Regions from separate parts of the Homo sapiens genome. Here all the other regions are linked to region 3. The links are contacts of gene promoters, found by promoter capture Hi-C in human tissues and cell types (Jung and others, 2019). All regions are on one chromosome and are shown on one strand. Each heading gives the region's core, a stretch centred on a gene start or on the middle of the fragment in contact. The rest is flanking DNA. Distances are from core to core; before and after follow the strand shown. Region 1 has its middle 16 kb from the start of FAM110A. Region 2 overlaps RSPO4 (R-spondin 4). Region 3 holds the start of ANGPT4 (angiopoietin 4).

Region 1 (3,305 bases), core at 156-2,655, 67 kb before region 3:
GTCAGAGCAGGAGGTTGAGCTCAGGGAAGGATAGCGACTTGTATACTGTCACATAGCAGGTCTGCAGGACAGCCTGGGGTCACACTCTTGCCTGCCAGACACATCGCAGTCTGGATTCCTGGTTCTCCCAGCATGTACCCCACCACTCTTCCTCATCTTGGCAGCCTTTTCTTCTGGTCACTTTATTACTGAGCATCTACTGGGTGCCCAGCAGTGGATAAGACAGACATGGCCCCTGTCCTAGTCTGGAGAAGAGAATGGGCAACTAAACATTCAGCACATAAATAATCATAGAATGTAAAGCAGGTATACTTAGGGACTTCTGCCCTAAAACCAGAGCTGTTCCCAGGAGCTGGACCAGGGGATAGCTGAAAAGAGAACGCCTTTCCATAAATCCACTGGGAGGGTCTGTTGGGGAGAGAGCAGGGAGGGATTCTTGGAAGTGGGGAAGGTGCCAGATTGAGTCTTCTCCAATGGTTATGGCTTGGTCTTGGGAGGGCTCCCCCTGTTCCAGGATTCTGGAGCCTCCCGCCTTCCCTGCAGGCCTCTGTGGAGGGAGCAGGGCGGGGGGCTTTTGCACTCCTCCCTCCCCCAACCCTGCAGCCTTGGGGATCTGTGGAAACAGCCCCTCTATTGTTCTGCCTCCAGTTGGAGTGTGAGCCCTCGGAGGGCCTGCAGCTGCTGCCCTGTCTCCTGGGGCTGCCCAGCCCTCCGAAGCAGCTCCCCCAGGCCAGCCTGGCCCCAGCTGCCTAGCCCCTAATTAGGCAGAGATGGGATCTGCTCTCTGATCCATTTCCCACCAGCTAATTATATACACGTGGATTTGGGAACCAGGCAACCTGGCTGCTCACTTCTATCATGAAGGTGGATGGGCCCTGGGAAAGGCAGCCCCCCCCCCACAGACCTCAGTTTACCCTTTTGGCAGAGGATGGAGTGTAGCTGCAGAGGCCTGTTCCCTGTCCTTGGTTAAATAGTTCTGTTCCTGCTACTGAAACATTTAAGGAGACCCCCCACCCCCATCTTACCTGATATCCTGTGTACAGGGGACCAGGAAAGGGTTGAGGAATTTGGCTATAGGTCCTTGACTCTAGGACCCCAGGGTAGGGTCATAGGATATAGATGAGAGCATGGCTGCAGCTGGCTGCCAATTAGATGTGCATATAGGAGGGCTTACAGTTGTGCTGGTCCATCTGGGTGGCCTGAACACCCGGCCGGGTGCGGTGGCTCACGTCTGTAATCCCAGCACTTTGGGAGGCCAAGGCAGGCGGATCACTTGAAACCAGGAGTTTGAGACCAGCCTGGACAACGTGGTGAAATCCCGTCTCTACTAAAAATACAAAAATTAGCTAGGCATAGTGGCGGACACCTATAATCCCAGCTACTTGGGAGGCTGAGGCATGAGATTCGCTTGAACCCTGGAGGTGGAGGTTGCAGTGAGCCAATATCATAGCACTGCCCTCCAGCCTGGGTGACAAAGAAAGACTCCCTCTCAAAAAAAAAAAAAAAGGAGTGAACACCCCATCCAGGTTTTTAAAAAGGTAATATTGGTTGATGGGTACAGCAAACCACCGTGGCACATACATATCTATGTAACAAACCTGCACATTCTGCACATGTATCTCAGAACTTAAAGTAGAATAAAAATAAAATAAAAGGTAATATTATTTTTCAGATAATTCACTCATATATTTCTTCCAACATTTTATTAAGAAAAATTTCAAACATAGAGTTGAAAGAATTAGACAGTGAACATTCATATACCCACCTACTAATGCACACTTGTTAATATTTCACTATATTTGCTCTATCAGGAATCTACCCATCTCTCCATCCATTAATACAACTTATTTTTTTAATACAACTTATTTTTTAATAAAGCTTTTCAAATTAAGTTGCATATATCAGTACACTTCCCTTAAAGTCACTTTAGTGTGCATGCCATTAGCTAGAATTCAATATTTGTTTGTCTTGTTCCTCTCTAGGTAACATTTACATGGAATGAAATGCACAGATCTTAAAGGTGCCATTTGCTGAATTTAGACAAATGCATACTGTACCCCAAACCCCTATCAGGGTATCAAGCATTATCACCTCAGAAAGTTTCCTTGCATCGCTCTCCTGCCGATTGCTGCCTGCCCACCATGGACATATTTTTATATCCATATATATCAGTACTAACAAGCAGCATCCCTTGTCCTTTCCTCTACATCAGCCTCGCTCCCCAAAAGCAACCACTTACAACTTCTTAAACTATTTCTTCTGGTACTTTCCTCCATATTTTTAAATAACTTGCTTTTCCTGCTGTTTTCTTGATCAATTTTAGGCATACACACACACACACACACACACACACACACACACACACACATATATATTTATTTTTTTTTTGAGACAGAATCTTGCTCTGTTGCCCCGGCTGGAGTGCAGTGGTGTGATCTTGGCTCACTGTAACCCCTGCCTCCCAGGTTCAAGCGATTCTCCTGCCTCAGCCACCTAAGTAGCTGGGACTACAGGTGTGTGCCACCACGCCTGGCTAATTTTTGTATTTTTTGTAGAGATGGGGTTTCACCATGTTGACCAGGCTGGTCTTGAATTCCTGACCTCAAGTGATCCACCCACCTTGGCTTCCCACAGTGCTGGGATTACAGGCGTGAGCCAGTGTGTCTGACCAATTTTAGGCACATATTGACTGACTTTCTGGTCTGATGTTTTCATAGTGTGGCCTCCACTGCCTGGCTGCCTGGCTTTGGATCCCAGCCCTTCCTCTTTCTGGCTGTATGACCTTGGGCAGTAACTTAACCTCCTTGGGCCTCAGTTTTCTCATTTGTAAAATGAGGGTGATAATAATAGTGCTGAGGTTATTGGATTGTTATACGGATTCAAGATGTAAAAGGCTGAGAATAATGAACATCACCCAGTGAGTAGTCAAACTTTTTCTTCTCATAATCATTATTATCAAGAAAGATTTAGCTTTTGGTTCCCCCCTTTCAATTGGCATTTATCACAATTTTTTGTGAAGTGGATTTTAGTGTTATTTATATTATGACTATGTAAATACTGTTTCCTTTCAAGCCAAGTCATATATTTTGGTTACATTTCCTTTCTTGTACAACTCTTTGTTCTTCCTGGAGTTACTACTCGCTTTGCTTTTTTTCATTTGCTGTTTCCTCTTAACCCATCCTTAATTCTCTTAATTCTTTGACACCCTCAGTCTCCCCATAGTTAACATTACACATCCTGAAACTCTTCAAGTGCTTTTAAAGAAGCATCCCCATCCATTTAAAAAAAACTGGAGCCAATTTTTA
Region 2 (3,121 bases), core at 379-2,878, 69 kb after region 3:
CCTGACCAAGACGGTGAAACCCCGTCTCTACTAAAAACACAAAACACCTGCACCAGGTGTGGTGGTGCGCACCTGTAATCCCAGCTACTTGGGAGGCTGAGGCAGGAGAATCACTTGAACCTGGGCAGCAGAGGTTGCAGTGAGCCGAGATCATGCCACTACACTCCACCCTGGGCGACAGAGTGAGACTCTGTCTCAGAAAAAAAGAAAGCTGAGAAATATAATCAGCTCCCAGTGCTGAGAAGACTTGGGGCCCCACTGCCAGTGAGCATCAGGAAAGGGGGCCAGGTCTAAAAGTCAGCGCTGACTGAGGCAGGTCCTTGGTCAGTGTGTCCCTGCCAGTGTTCCTGGGAAAGCCCCAGTTCTTCTCAGCCAGCACCCTGGGTACCTGGAGCTTCCAAGGGGTGGCAGAGAGTTGGGAATGCAGTTTGGGCCTCCAGCCCAATGCTCCATGCTCCTTGCCCAGTAATCACACCTGGCACAAAGTGAGCATCTTCAAGGACCCTATTCTGGGTCTGGTCTCTCCCCATGGGCCTTCTTCAACACTCAAATCCTAGTAGTACAAGGGAGAGAGCCCCAGATGTGGACTCTTGTCCAGTTCTGTGTGTCCTCAGGCAAGTGTCTCCCTGTCTCTGGGCTTCAGTTTCTCCATCTGTCAAATGGATGGTTAAACTCAGTGTTTCTAAAGGCCCACTGTTCACCCATCCATCCATCCATCCACCCACCCACCTACCCATCTGCCCACCCATCTATCCATCCCCATCCATCCATCCATCCATCCCCATCCATCCATCCATCCATCCATCCATCCACCCACCCACCCATCTATCCATCCACTCACCCACCCATCTATCCATCCATCCATCCACCCATCCATCCATCCACCAACCCATCTATCCATCCAATCACCCACCCATCTATCCATCCACCAACCCATCTATCCATCCACTCACCCACCCATCTATCCATCCATCCATCCACCCACCCACTCATCTATCCATCCATCCATCCATCCATCCACCCACCCACCTACCCATCTGCCCACCCATCTATCCATCCCCATCCATCCATCCATCCATCCACCCACCCATATATCCATCCACTCACCCACCCATCTATCCATCCATCCACCCACCCACTCATCTATCCATCCATCCATCCATCTATCCACCCACCCACCCATCATCCACCCAACCATCTATCCGTCCATCCATCCATTCAGCAGATATTTCTTGAATATCATCTATGTGCCAGGATCCTTTATTTATTAAAGTTAAAAGACAAATCACAGACCTGTAGAAACATTTTAGAAAGACATACAAAATCATACTGGATTGGAAATGTAAATTTCCCCAGGACTTTTGTTCACCAGTGACTCTCCAATGCCATGCATGGGGCCACATGTCTACTAGGTGCTCTGTAAAATGTTTATTGGATGTAAGAATGAATAGGACATATTTTGCTGTTCTAAAGAGAGCTGCCTCCGAGTCTGAGATTGGAGTCAGACATCCTCTCTAGGACTTATTGAGAGGGGGCCAACTATCTTTGTCACCCCCATCCCTGACCTGCCCCACTGCCTCCCCAGCCCATATAAGCCAGTTTCTAAAGAGGATCTAAGGAGGATTGGCCAGCAGTGACTGGGGCAGGGTAGGGCACGGCATGCCCCCAACTCCCAAGCCCAGGTGGGCTCATGGTTTGGAGGGGAGAAGCTATGAACCAGAGGGAAACAGGCATTCCATCCCTTGATTGAACTCACTCTTGTTGATCTGCCCTGTGTCCATTGGGAGTGAGTGGAGAATGAATGAGAAATGCAAAAGGGGTGGGGTCTGGCAGAGGCAGCCTGCATTGCCACCATTTGACCAATTTCCTGTCAATTTCCTATATTTGGTCAAGTGGACATTGAAGGAGGCTCTTGAGCTTAATCTAAGCCATGGTTTTCCAGCCCAAAGGGGCATGAGGCTGTTGAAGTGGGGATGGGGTAGTGAGGAAGCTAGGGTGATCTGAAGAGGTCAAGCTCGTGCTCCTTGCTCAGTAATCACACCTGTGTACCAATTAGGCACCTGCCACACGTGGGAGAAAGGGGAGGGCATGGATGGAGGCAGAGGAACATTTAGTCCCAGTCCCTCCCTGCTGCTCACTGGTGATGGCCCCAGAGTTTTCTAACACCGGGAATTGTGGAGGCCACAGCAGCATCAGGGTAGTGACAGCTGTCTCTATCCCCATTCCTTCTTCTGCTCCCCAACATACAGGGGAGAAATCAACCCAGAGGGAGGAGAGAAGAGAATGAGACAGCATGACATATCTCCCTACAGGGCAAATCAGTGGAGTCAGAAGCTGAGTCAGGCAGTGATGGGGAAGCAGTGATGGGAAAGGAGAGCTTCAAATCAGACCTGTATTTTAAAAATTCAGCACTGGACTAGGCTTTTTAATAGCTGAAAGTTACCAGAAAGCTTTGAGATCTGCCCAAAGTTATTAAGGATTGGAGTTTAAAAATACGACTGTGCATTGGGGGTGGGGGGTGGGGGGTGCATGGAAAGCATGCCATGTTTGTAACCCTCTGTTACAACTTCAGTATCATCATTAAGCCAGTTACACACAAAGTAAGCCAAGAATATCCTTAATACACAACGAGCTCCTATAAATCAATAAGAAAAAGGGGAATGATCCAAGTGTGTGGAGGGAGAATGGGCAAAGACATTACAAGGAATTTAAAAAAGAAAGACAAATAGGACAATAACCATACGCAAAGCTGTTCTACTTCCCTAAGAATTTTCAAATTGAAGATGAGAACAAGAATGAAATACCACCATGACCTACAAGATACGGAAACTGTAAAAGACTCCGGCACCCTCTTTTGAGAAGGCAATTAGGCAGAGTCTATTATCTGTAGCCTGAGGTAGTAACAGCATTTTACAGGAAGTGTCCTGAGTTGAGAGAGGGGTAGGCACTTGTTAGAAGCCACACAGTGAGTCATGGGAGGGGAGGAGCTAGAACTCAGACCTCTGGATGGGCACCTTTGATTCTTTATCTCCAGCCAGCTGGTCCTCTCTGTCTGGGCTAGTGCACAGCCTGGCCCCTGGCCCCTGTCTGGGTAGCCCAGGTCTGCTACATCCATTGCTGC
Region 3 (3,086 bases), core at 274-2,773:
CACCTCTGTAGTCAGTGCTTCTCCGAGGGTACACAATAGGTGCTCACACTGCTGAAAGACGAAAGCATGACAGGGCATTCTACAGCAGCCCTGGTCTTGGGCCAAAACCACAGTGGCATCCTCAGCTCCTTGCTTCCTCCCACTCCGCATCCAATTCACCAGCAGAGCTGATGGGCTCTACCTCCAGAACCCACCAGAATCTTACTGGCCACACCCCCTCCTAGCCCCGTTCTGCTCCAGGCCTCCGGTACCTTGCACCTGATGGCTGCAGCGGCCACCTCTTTGGGCTTCTTCCTTCCACCCTGCCTCCTACAGTCTATGCTGTTGAAATCGAATCACGGGTGTCTGTCTCTGCTCACAACCTTGCAGTGGCTCCCATGACACTCAGAACAAAAGCTGAAGTCCTTCCAGTGGCCCCCCCCCCAGCTGCATGGCCTGCCCTGCTGTCACCTCTCAGACCTCCCCGCACCCTTGCTCCCTCTCCTCTGCTCCAGCTACACAGGCCTTCGCCCCATGGTTCTCCAGGCACACACCGCTGCGGATGCATTCCCTCCTCACGGTCAAAATACATGCAGCTCCCTTTGCAGAACGTTCCCTCAAATACCTGCCTGGCCCACTCTATCATTTCCCTTGTTCTCTGGGTTCAAATGTCACCTCCTCTGAGAAGTACTCTCTAATGATCTGACCTCAAGCAGCCACCCAGGGCCGCCACTTGCCCTCTTTCTTCTTCATTTTGCTTCACCATCTGACATAGTAGATTATCTCTTACTGCCTCTTTCCCCTACTAGTCCAGAGGGAGACATACTATACTGTCGTATCCCCAGCACCCAGGAAGGCTTGGTCCGTTCAGCCCTTGGTCAGGGCTGAATGGATTTCTGTTGGATGAATGAAGGGACGGCAGTTAAAGAGCCAGGTTGCCAGCTGACATTGCCCAATCTTGCTGTGTGGCCTCAGACCCACCCCTGCCCCTCTTTGTGCAGCTCAGAGACAGCCCTCTGTGCTCAGGGAAGGCCTCTTGGATGGACACTCCACCTGCTGATTGTGACAGACCCCAAAGCCGCCCTCTGCCCCCTGCAAACCTCCCATGCCCCGTACCTTCTTCAGCCACTGCGTGTTGTTCTGCAGTGCCTGCTCCAGCTGTTTCACCTGCTGGGTGGGCAACTTCCCCAGGTGCAGTGGGTTGGCCAGTGATTCTCTCTGGAGGGTGTTGGAGTCCCTGGAGACCTCAGGCCCCGGAGGGCAGGGCTCAGACTTGGGCAGCAAGAAGGTGTAGCTACAGTGGCCGTGCTGGACTACAAGTGTCTCGCAGCCCCTATCCGCCTCCTGCCTTGTCTGTTGAGCCACAGACATGGTGGCAACCACAAGGAGGAGGCTGCCCTGCAGCATGGCTAGCTGGGAGAGCATCTGAAGATGTGTCAATGGCGAGGGATGTCTGCTCAGAGCCCTAGGGGCTGTGCCTGGGATGTCCTGCTGCAGCCAACAGTGGCCAGGCTTGCCTGCAGCTGCAGCTACAAACCTCTGTCTGGCCGAGCTCTGTCCAGGCAGCTATTTATACTTGCTCTGAATACCACGGCTGCTCTGCTTGCTTCCTCTCACCGCCTCCCTCCGGCCCCACCCGACACCCTCTCACCTCTATTCTTCACTCCTTCCCTTCCTCCTTCCTCAGTCTTGGTGGCACGTCGCCCTTACCCTAAGCGTGCACCAACCTTGCTCTGTCTGCCTCACCTCTGAGCCCTCTGATTATCCAGTGAGGCCTGGCTTCCCTGCTGGAGGGGAGGGAAGAAAACAGCACACAGACACGCGCACACACTCATGCACACACTCACGAGCACACACTCACACGCACGCTGACACGCACACACATTCATGTACACACAAACGCCAAGCTCCAATGCTGCCCGCTTTGGAAAACCAAATGCAACTTAACTCTCCCTTCCTGTCTCTGTCTTGGTCTCCCTCTTTCCCTCCACCCCCATCCCCTGCCCCCCAAGTCTAAGATCTCAAGTTTCAGTCCCGCTGCCATCCCCTTCTCTCCCCGCTGCACCTTCCTCCCTCTGGTTCCATGTTAGCGCTTGGAGTACAAGTGACCCCCGGAGAGAGCAGAGGGAGGGGAGGAGGCAGAGGGGTGAGGCTGGGGAGGGCCCAGCGAATCCACTTTGCCTCTGGAGACACAGAAAATCCTTCCAAGGTGGGGCAAGTGAGCAACCCAGCTGGGAGTTGCTTCCTGTCCTCTCTTCTCCCTCAGGGCCAGGGGAAAGTGGTATGCCCCAGGATGGCCCTGGCTTGGTTGCTTGTAACAGTAATGAGAAGTTGTCATGTCCTGGGGCAGATTGTCCTGGGGCTGCTGGAGTGGGGATGTGGAGAGGAGGCAGTGGGGAGAGGAGGTTGGAGTGCCAGGAGGCTAACCCTAGATCTCGCTCCCCGACAGCTGGCCACGAGACCTAGGGTGGGCAGCTGTGCCTCTCTGGGCCTCCACACCCTGATCTGTAAACTGGGTAAACCTTATCTCTTGCAGGAGGAATGCGTGTGAGTCCTCAGCATGGGGATGGAGAAGTTTTCAGCTTCTGGGTTCAAATCCTGGCTCTACCATCTACCAGCTGTATGACTTTGAGTAAGTCACTTAACCTCTCTGTGCCTTCATTTCCTCCTGAATGAGGAAAATAATACCACCTACTTCACATGGCATGAAAATTAGGTGAGTTAGAGCAAGGTTGGCACAGAGCGAGCACTAAATAAATATTTTCCGTTGTCAATGTTATAGTTGTCATTGCACCTCCCCTCCCACGACCCACTGGAGCATAAACTCCTCTAGGGCAGGGATTTGTCCCTGGGGGACATGGTCTCCAGGCAGAAGGTGCCCAGGAGTTGGTGGGGCCTTTCCTGCATGGGCTGCCTTTATGTTCTGCCAGCTGTTTGGGCTTTTCCTCTCTCCCTGCTTGTTTCCTCAGAGTAGGGGCCAGTCTGGCTGTTTAGTATTTTCCTTTTTGTTCTCTCAAATCCCGATAGAGTTTTGAATTGGGGCAGGCTGCTTCTGGGCAGCTGTGAACTGTGGTCTCATCTGGGGACTGAGAACATTATACCAGGTG

Evidence for each region. The method cuts DNA at HindIII sites, captures the fragments that hold promoters and counts their contacts. A contact is called where the count stands out against the background at its distance.
Region 1: a contact is called between a fragment that was not itself captured here and the fragment with the promoter of ANGPT4 in region 3, in 3 of the 25 tissues and cell types used here (IMR-90 fibroblasts, mesendoderm cells and thymus).
Region 2: a fragment that was not itself captured here is called in contact with the fragment with the promoter of ANGPT4 in region 3 in 4 of the 25 tissues and cell types used here (dorsolateral prefrontal cortex, mesenchymal stem cells, psoas muscle and 1 more).

The regions. Positions count from the first base shown.
Region 1 is chr20:847,768-851,072 of GRCh38, forward strand. No RefSeq gene overlaps it. Among named protein-coding and RNA genes, the nearest start is that of FAM110A, 16 kb to the left of the region's middle. The HindIII fragment of the contact is 7,153 bases long and covers 1-3,305 here.
Region 2 is chr20:984,142-987,262 of GRCh38, forward strand. The region is part of intron 1 of RSPO4 (R-spondin 4); the gene reads right to left. Among named protein-coding and RNA genes, the nearest start is that of RSPO4, 17 kb to the right of the region's middle. The HindIII fragment of the contact is 4,609 bases long and covers 1-3,121 here.
Region 3 is chr20:914,811-917,896 of GRCh38, forward strand. It overlaps ANGPT4 (angiopoietin 4), which reads right to left and starts at 1,524. Exons shown (of 9, transcript NM_015985.4): 1 at 1,096-1,524. The coding sequence starts at 1,404. LOC105372492 (a long non-coding RNA gene) reads left to right here. Exons shown (of 3, transcript XR_937185.3): 2 at 2,516-2,611. The HindIII fragment of the contact is 12,950 bases long and covers 1-3,086 here.